Linked DNA regions of Homo sapiens: region 1 is linked to region 2. The links are contacts of gene promoters, found by promoter capture Hi-C in human tissues and cell types (Jung and others, 2019). All regions are on one chromosome and are shown on one strand. Each heading gives the region's core, a stretch centred on a gene start or on the middle of the fragment in contact. The rest is flanking DNA. Distances are from core to core; before and after follow the strand shown.

Region 1 (4,586 bases), core at 394-2,893, 130 kb after region 2:
AGCCAGGATTTGAACCTGGGCGGTTGTGTATGGAAGGCACTGAAGGCTGGGCTCTTACCTGCCTGTCCTGCTGCCCTGGAGGGCTGAGGTGACACTGTTGGTTTTGTCTATTATTATTTTATTTATTTATTTATTTATTTATTTATTTATTTATTTTGAGAGGGAGTCTTGCTCTGTCGCCCAGGCTGGAGTGCAGTGGTGCAATCTCAGCTCACTGCAACCTCCGCCTCCCGGGTTTGCGCCATTCTCCTGCCTCAGCCTCCCCAGTAGCTGGGACTATAGGTGCCCACCACCATGCCCGGCTAATTTTTTTTTTTTTTTTTTTGTATTTTTAGTAGAGATGGGGTTTCACTGTGTTAGGCAGGATGGTCTCGATCTCCTGACCTCATGATCCACCTGCCTCGGCCTTCCAAAATGCTGGGATTACAGGCGTGAGCCACCGCGCCCGGCCTTATTATTATTATTATTATTATTATCATCATCATCATCATCCTCTCAAGGCTGGTCCTGGCCTCCCCTCTCCCTCCGTTCCCATTCTTTCTGTCTACACCCAGACCTTGCCTTTCCTCTCCTGCCTAGTCTCTGCTGAGTGAGGGTCCCTCCCTCCTGTGTGACCTGTCCTGGACCCCACGGGTAGTGGGAGGAAGCACAAAGTGGGCCCCGGGGCCCCCACCTCCCCAATGGCTGTACACCAGCCTTTCCCATGGGCCTGTGCAGCAGGAAAGATGCTTAAAACCAACCCCTCCCACCAAATGTGGCCTGAGGCTCAGCTCGGTACTCCCACCACCATCGCCACCACCACAAGGGACCCATGGCCCAGAGCAGACGCTGACGCTGAGCTCGCAGGCGCCCTCAACCACGGTGGAGTGGCCATTCTGAGCCCCATTTTGCAGCTGTGGAAACAGAGACTCACAAAGGTAAAATCTCTCACTAAGCTCACCGAGCAGAGCTGGGCCTGGAAGCCAGAGTCCTGCCCATTCCAGAGTCCTGCCCACTCCAGAGTTCACAGCCTTAAACCCTTTGCTGGCCCCCAAAATGCCTCCTCGTGGCCTGAGAGTCCCCACAGGATGCGCCCATCACCATGCTGCCCTCCTCTTCTCCCAAGCACCCCTGTACTCACTGTGCCCTGGCCACACAGGTCCCCCTGCTGTTCCTCAAATCCTAGACATGGTTCCACCTCAGGGCCTTTGCATGGGCGAGTGCCCCACCTGGAACTCTCCTCTCACTGATCTCCCACCTTCCCTGACTTCCCAGGCCCGCCTGTGCTCACAAGCCCTGCTCCTGTCCTGTCGCCCTCTACACCTGTCTCTGCTTTATCTTTCCTCAGGGCTCTTACCACATATATGGCGTGCTTGTGTGTGTGTGTATAATTCTTTTTTTTTTTTTTTTTTTTTGAGACAGAGTTTCACTCTTGTTGCCCAGGCTGGAGTGCAATGGCATGATCTTGGCTCACTGCAACCTCCGCCTAGTGGGTTCATGTGCTTCTCCTGCCTCAGCCTCCCAAGAAGCTGGGATTACAGGCGTCCGCCACCATACCCGGCTAATTTATGTATTCTTAGTAGAGATGGGGTTTTACCATGTTGGCCAGGCTGGTCTTGAACTCCTCACCTCAGGTGATCCACCTGCCTCAGCCTCCCAAAGTGTTGGGATTACAGGCGTGAGCCACCGGGCCCAGCCATATGTGTAATTCTTTAGCATCTGCCTCTCCCTTAGAATGTGTCAGCTTCACAGGGCAGGGACTGTCCTCTGTCTTACCCCCTCGTAGCCCAGGGCAGCACACAGTAGGGACTCCGTGGAATGATCGTCCCTGTCCGCTGCATTATTCCCCTGCTCAGAGGCCTTGGACAAGGCCCAGCAGCACCCGGGAAATCTTTCAGATAAGCAGCTGGGACCTGGGGGCAGTAGTCCCAGAGCAGCAGGAAGGTGCAGCCTTCTGCCCCAGCCGGGGCACAGATGCCTCTGAAGTCCAGTATTTGATCCCAGAAATGCAAGCGCATTTTGTATCCTACTCTAAAATGTTTATTTCAAATTTTAAAAAATCTTTTGAATTCTTTAACATGCGGGACAGGCAGCGTTGACCTGGCCTAGCAGACACTTCAGATTTTCCAGTCACCCCCTGCATCCTCTGACCTTTTCTGGGAGGAAAAGGGTCCCACCACCCCCATTCTCCCCCACAAGGTTAACTGGCCCAAATGGAAAAGCAAGATCCACCGTGCGACAAAGCTGTCAGTGTCAGCAGACGTGAGCGTGCAAAAACCCTTACCTCCTGCCCCGCCCCCTCCAGGCTCTGATCAAAGCTGCTGCCCCTGGAAGGGAGGGGGCTGGCCCACCCAGAACACAGGGGCCCAGGGGCAGAGCAGGGGAGGTGGCCAGGACCACAGGCATCCTTTCATCGTTACCAAAATGAAACTCGAATCAGGAAGGGGACCCAGACCGCTCACTGCCTCCAGCCTGCACTCAGCCTTCCACCATTGGGTCCCACTCACCACCCTGCCACAATCTTCACCTACCAGCTCTGGGAGGGCCCCTCCCTGCCTCAGTTTACCTCCTACCTTCTGGCATGTGCTTTGATGGTGGAGGCGCTGGGAGTTTGGCTTCCCGTCCCGGCACAGCAGGCTCCTCGCTGTCCTGAGTCCCCCAAGCCATTCCTGCCTCCAAACCTTGGCTTAGCTCTTGCCCCCATCCTGCACGGCCCCCAACCCTCCTCTAACCACATCTCTCTTCAGGCCTCCCACACTGAGCCTCGTTCCTCCAAGGAGTCCTCAGGTTTGGGACCGACACATCCCCAGAGTCTGCCTTAGCAAACACCTACTCCACCCACAAGTGACCCGATCACACCCACCCACGCATCGACCCACGCACCCGTCCATGTCTACCAAGGGCTGACTCTGCTGGGCCTGGGGCCCATAGCAGTGCACCCAACAGTCAGAAACATCCCTGTCCTCGCAGCACTCACATTCTAGAAGGAAGGAGGCAGTCAATGTATGAGATAAATCAGAAAAACATCTACTAAGTCGGGTGAGAAATGCTGACATAGAAAATAACGCAGCAATCAGAAAGGAGCTGAGGGGAGGGGAGGCTGGAATTCTCAATAAAGTGGTCAAGGCCGGGCACGGTGGTTCACGCCTGTAATCCCAGCACTTTGGGAGGCCAAGGAGGGAGGATCGCTTGAGCCCAGGAGTTCAAGATCAGCTTGGGCAACCTAGTGAGACCCTGTCTCTACCCCAAAAATAAAAAATAAATAAAAATTTAGCCAGGTGTGGTGGTGTGCGCCTGTGGTCCCAGCTACTGAGGAGGCTGAGGCGGGAGAATCACCCGAGCCTGGGAGGTCGAGGCTGCAGTGAGTGATCGTGCCACTGCACTCCAGCCTAGGTGACAGGGTGAGACCTTGTCTCAAAAATAAGAATAACAGGCTGGGTGCAGTGGCTTATGCCTGTAATCCCAGAACTTTTGGAGGCCAAGGCAGGCAGATCACTTGAGGTCAGAAGTTGGAGACCAGCCTGGCCAACATGGTGAAATCCCATCTCCACTAAAAATACAAAAAATTAGCCTGGCGTGGTGGCAGGCGCCTGTAGTCCCAGCTACTTGGGAGGCTGAGGCAGGAGAATCGCTTGAACCTGGGAGGTGGAAGTTGCAGCGAGCCAAGATCGCACCATTGCACTCCAGCCTGGGCGACAGAGTGTGAGACTCCATCTCAAAATAATAATAATAACTATTATTATAAAATAAAGTGGTCAGGCAGGCCTTGCTGAGAAGGGGACACGTGAGCAGGGACCTGCGTGAGGAGGGGAGAGGGAGCCATGTAGGGCTCTGGAGGAAGGGCAGCCCAGGAGGAAGGAACAGCCAGGGCGGTAGGAATTTGCTTGATATGGTCAAGGGACAGCGAGGAGGCCACGTGGCTGGAGCAGGGTGGGCGAGGGGGCAAGTGGAAGGACAGGCCAAGGAGGTAATGGGGCAGATCGTGTGGGGCTTTGGGGGCCACCGGGAGGGCCTGGTCCTTTCCCGAGTGAGACGGAGTTGCAGGGGTCTCTGAGCCCAGGAGGGCCACCGCCTGACTCAGGAGTTCACAGGCTCCCACTGGCTGGGAACAGTCTGTGGGGGCAGAACGGAAAGGGGGACCAGGGAGGAGGAGGCTGTGATGGCCCAGTGGAAATCAAGGGGGCAGGACCTTGTGGGGGCTGCAGAGGGGGCGGCATGAGCAGGTTCTGGGCACACTGTAAAGGTGGAGGTGGCAGGACTGGCCGAGGGCTGCAGCGTGAGCTCATAGGCAGGGGCTTGGCCTGGTCTTGCTCCATGTGGCACCCCCAGCACCTGGCGCGGAGCCTGGCGCAGTCAGCCTAGGTCCGTTCCCTCCAGGGCCCTCAGCGTTGCCTCACACATTACAGTTGTTTGCCTGTCTGTGGCCATCTTCCTCGCTAAGTCAGTGACTCATATGGACAGGGACCGCGTTTTGGTTCATGATGGCTGCATTTCAGTGCCTACAGCAGGGCGTGGACTCACAAGGGCTCCCCTTCGTGGCTGTGGACTTGCCCAGGCTGTGCCAGGCACACAGACCAGGCCACGCGGAGCCCTCTAAACAGTGCTGG
Region 2 (4,528 bases), core at 1,411-3,910:
GGTCATGCCACAACTCCCGGCTAATTTTTGTACTTTTAGTAGAGACAGGGTTTCACCATGTTGGCTAAGCTGGTCTCAAATTCCTGACCTCAAGTGATCTGCCTGCCTCAGCCTCCCAAAGCACTGGGATTACAGGTGTGAGCCACCATGCCTGGCAGTACACACACATACTTGCACACGTGTGGGCATGAACATGCACAGTTACGCACCTTTGGTTAGACTCAAGTTCAGGCAGACACTCATTTCCATACAAATACATACATAGTCACAGAAGTCAGGCACACACAAATATACACAACGAGTCACAAATTTTGCCTGCATCACCCAGACATCCACACCCAGTCACAGACCCACAATCACACACACACTCAAGGATTCACCTATCACAGAAGGTTCCAATTCCTTGTTGTTTATTTGTGCATAATGTATAAAAGTAAAACAATAAACTCAGCCCTATGTCTCAGTCAGGGCTGCAGCTTCATAAATAAAGGGTGAGAGGAAATAAATTAAGGAAGGAGTAGGGCTCAGCGCATAAATAAGGTGTGGGGTGTCAGGTGGACTCAGGGTGGGTTGACGTTCTCAGACACAGGTTCCCATCGGCCACATATTTGAGGTCTCGCGTGAGGAGGCGGAAGAGGTTGAAGGTGACAGATGCCTCCAGGCAGCCAGCGGACTCCTGTAGGGGAGGAGGGGATGGGTCAGGGGCTGTCCAGGGTCTGGGCTCCTATTGGCTCCCCAGACCCTGGTCCTTCTCTTCCTGGGTCACTCACCTTTTTGGGGGCCTCCTGGAGCCGGTGCAGCCAGTGGTGGAGGCGGCCCCGGGGCCTGGGCCCTGCTGTGGGCTGAGGCTGGATCTGTGGGCAGAAGAGGGCGGTGTGTGAGGCGGAGCCTGGGCCACCACAGGGGAAGGATGCTGCTCAGAGCCCACAGACCTGGGTGCCCGGGCCCCAAGGACTCACACAGGCCTGGAGCTGGGAGAGGATGTGGTGCAGGGTGTGAAGGGGCTGGTCTAGGACGTCCTCCAGGGCTGGGCCAGCAGCGGCCTCCAGGACCTTCAGCGTCAGGGCCAGCTCAGCCTCCAAGGCCACAGGGCGCTCCCTCACCTGAGGAGAGGTGAGAAAGAGCAGGTGAGGGAGAACAGGCAAGAAGACCCAGTTAGTGGGGACAGGTAGGCAGTCCTGGGGAAGGTCGGTGACACAGTGCATGTGGTGGGGACAGGTGAGGGGTCTGGGGAGAAGGAGACAGGAGGGGGAAGACATGAGGAAGGATACAGGTGAGGCAGGATGGTCAAGGAGGCAGGTGAGGGGATAAGTGAAATGGAGACAAATGAAAGGGGACTTACGGGGGTCACAGAAGTTCTCTGGGGCGGGGTGGGGACGGGTGAGGAGAAAGCAGGTTGGGGGCACAGTAAGAGAGGGACAGTTGCATGCACAGAGAAGAAGGGTAGGGCTGGGTGTGGTGGCTCACGCCTGTAATCCCAGCACTTTGGGAGGCCGAGGCGGGTGGATCACCTGAGGTCAGGATTTCGAGACCAAGCCTGGCCAACATAGTGAAACCCCGTCTCTGCTAAAAATACAAAAATTAGCTGGGCATCATGGCACATGCCTGTAATCCCAGCTACTCGGGAGGCTGAGGCAGGATAATTGCTTGAACCCGGGAGGCAGAGGTTGCAGTGAACCGAGATCATGCCACTGCACTCCAGCCTGGGCCATAGAGCAAGACTCTGTCTCAAAAAAAAAAAAAAAAAAAAAAAAAAGAGAAGGGTGGATGAGGGGGGAGCATGAGCTGGATGAATGTCAGTGAGAGATAATGAGGGACAGGTGACAGAGGCAGGTGAGAGGGAGAGGGGGTCAGTGTTGGGAACAGACAGGGAGAAGTGGAGCAGGACGAAAGGCACAGGTGGGCGACAGACTGGAGACATTTGGGAGAGAAATGAAGAGTGAGAGTGGAAGTGACAGGGACAGGTGAGCGAGCTAGGGAAGTGGGGCCGATGGGAGATGATAAAAGGGACCCAGGGGAAGGACAGAGTCAAGAGAGCAGTTTTGAAGTGGCAGGGGCACAGGACAGGTGAGGAGAGGTCCAAGAGAGTGAAGGACAAGGGAAACAAAGAAGGCTAAGGGGCCACTTAAGAAGAGGGGGGAGAGGGTCAAGGGAAGGGTGAAGGGGGCCTGACTTTCAGCTCACCTGGAGAAGCCTCAGGTCCCAATTCCCGGGGAAGACAGGAGAGCTGCAACTCCAGTTTTTCAGCTTGAGTGACTCTTCCTAGAGAGCAAGGGCAGGGGTTAGCCCACAGCAGGATGGCTGGAAGCTAGCTCATAGCAGCAAGGATGAAGTTGGCCTGACAGCATGGGTTTAACCCAGTGCAGAAAGGATAGAGGTTTGCCATAGTTGGAAGGCTAGAGGCTAGCCCACAGTAGAAGGGCAGTAATTGGGACACCCGTAGAAGTGGTTCATCCACAGCAACAGGAACTCACCAAGGCGTCCCTGGCCTTCTTGAAGCTCGCTAGCTCCTGTGGTGACAGAGATTTGAACCTGCCAATGTGGCAGCCCTTCCCAGTTGTGGTGGGCTTGGAAGTGGGGACAGGGCCTGCCACGGCCAAGCCTAGCACCAAAGTCACCAGCACCACGGTCCAAGCTGCAGCCATGGCTAAATCGCAACTGCTTCCCCAGCGGCATGGCTCTGCTTTTTAGCCACGCAAAATGGGCAATCCAAGATGATGTGTGTAAAGTGAAAAGGTAATTGGAAATGAGAATTTCCACTTTGACTTAAGAGGCATGAGTGGGCGGGGCCCGTCTGGGAGCCTGATGAGGGAACAGGTGTGGGCAGGGCCAAGTGAGCTGGGAGCTGCATCAAGAAGGAAAGAGAAACTGAAATCCTTAGAACTCCCTGGGCAGCTTTCAGCCAACTGGCCTCAGGGAGTCCCTGACGGAGGCTGAGATTAGGGATAAGGCTACCTGAGTGGCAGAGAGGAAGCTTCTTTTTTATTCTAAATTAGCCAGGTGTGGTGGCATGCGCCTGTGGTCTCAGCTACTCAGGAGGCCGAGGCATGAGAATCACTTGAACCCGGGAGGCGGAGGTTGCAGTGAGCCAAGATCGTGCCACTGCACTCCAGCCTGGGTGATGGAGTGAGATCCTGTTTCAAAAAAAAAAAAGCTTGTTTTTTATTTTATTGTTATTATTATTTTTTGAGACGTAGTTTTGCTCTTGTTGCCCAGGCTGGAGTGCAATGGTGCAATCTTGGCTCACTGCAACTTCTGCCTCCCGAGTTGAAGCGATTCTCCTGCCTCAGCCTCCTAAGTAGTTGGGATTACAGGTGCATGCCATCACGCCTGGCTAGTTTTTGTATTTTTAGTAGAGACTGGGTTTTACTATGTTGGTCACGCTGGCTTCGAACTCCTGACTTCAGATGATCTGCCTGCCTTGGCCTCCCAAAGTGCTGGGATTACAGGCGTGAGCCACCACCTTACTTTATTATTTATTTATTTATTTTTGTAGAGATAGGGGTCTCACTATGTTGCCCAGGCCAGTCTTGAACTCCTGGCCTTAAGCCATCCTCCTGCTTCAGCCTCGCAAAGTGCTAGTATTAAAGGCATGAGCCACTGCTCCTGGCCAAGAAGGAGCTTCTGCCATTGGTTTAAGAATGTCCCATTAACTAATTTCAGTTCATGCTCCTAATGTTTCTCTGAGTAGTTATTTTTATAATTGTGATGGTTAATTTTAGGTGTCACCTTGACTGGTTAAGTTTATCAGATAGCTGGTGATGCGTTAATTCTGGGTATGACTCTGGGGTGTTTCCAGAAGAGATTGGCATTTGAATCAATGGACTGAGTAAGGAAGACCCGTTGTTACCCAATGTGGTGGGCACCATCCAATTGGCCGAGGGCCTGAATAGAACAAAAAGGCAGAGGAAAGGAGAATTTGCTCTCTCTTATGAGCTGGGACACCCTGCACCTGCCCTTAAACATCAGAACTCCAGGCTCTTTGGTCTTTGAATGCTGGGATGTGCAGCTGGGCATGGTGGCTCACGCCTGTAATCCCAGCAGTTTGGGAGGCTGAGGCAGGTGAATCACTTGAGGTCAGGAGTTCGAGACCAGCCTGGCCAACATGGTGAAACCCCATCTCTACTAAAAATATAAAAATCAGCCAGGCGTGGTGGCACAGGCCTGTAGTCCCAGCTACTTGGGAGGCTGAGGCAGGAGTATCGCTTGAACCCTGGAGGCGGAGGCTGCAGTGAGCTGAGATCATGTCACTGCACTCCAGCCTGGTCAACAGAGTGAGACTCCATCTCAGAAAAAAAAAAAATGCTGGGACTTGCACTAGCTACCCCCTAAGTCCTGAGGCTTTTATTCTGGAACTGAGCTGCACTACAAGCTTCCCTGGTTCTCCAGCTTGCAGATGGCCTGTTGTGGAACTTCTTAGCCTCCCTAATTGTCTGAGCCAATTCCCCTAATAAATCCCCTCCTATCTCTCTCTCATCTATCTAGTCTCTCTCTCTCTCTCTCTCTCTCTCTCTCTCTATCTAGTCTA

What was found. Contacts are between HindIII fragments. The study calls those that stand out against the background at their distance.
Region 1: a fragment that was not itself captured here is called in contact with the fragment with the promoter of IFNL1 in region 2 in 1 of the 25 tissues and cell types used here (psoas muscle).

What each region holds. Positions count from the first base shown.
Region 1 is chr19:39,161,086-39,165,671 of GRCh38, reverse strand. All of the region lies in intron 1 of PAK4 (p21 (RAC1) activated kinase 4), which reads right to left. Among named protein-coding and RNA genes, the nearest start is that of PAK4-AS1, 27 kb to the right of the region's middle. The HindIII fragment of the contact is 8,833 bases long and covers 1-4,586 here.
Region 2 is chr19:39,294,539-39,299,066 of GRCh38, reverse strand. It overlaps IFNL1 (interferon lambda 1), which reads right to left and starts at 2,660. Exons shown (of 5, transcript NM_172140.2): 1 at 2,475-2,660; 2 at 2,185-2,262; 3 at 960-1,103; 4 at 771-854; 5 at 394-676. The coding sequence starts at 2,645. The coding sequence ends at 551. The HindIII fragment of the contact is 11,779 bases long and covers 1-3,763 here.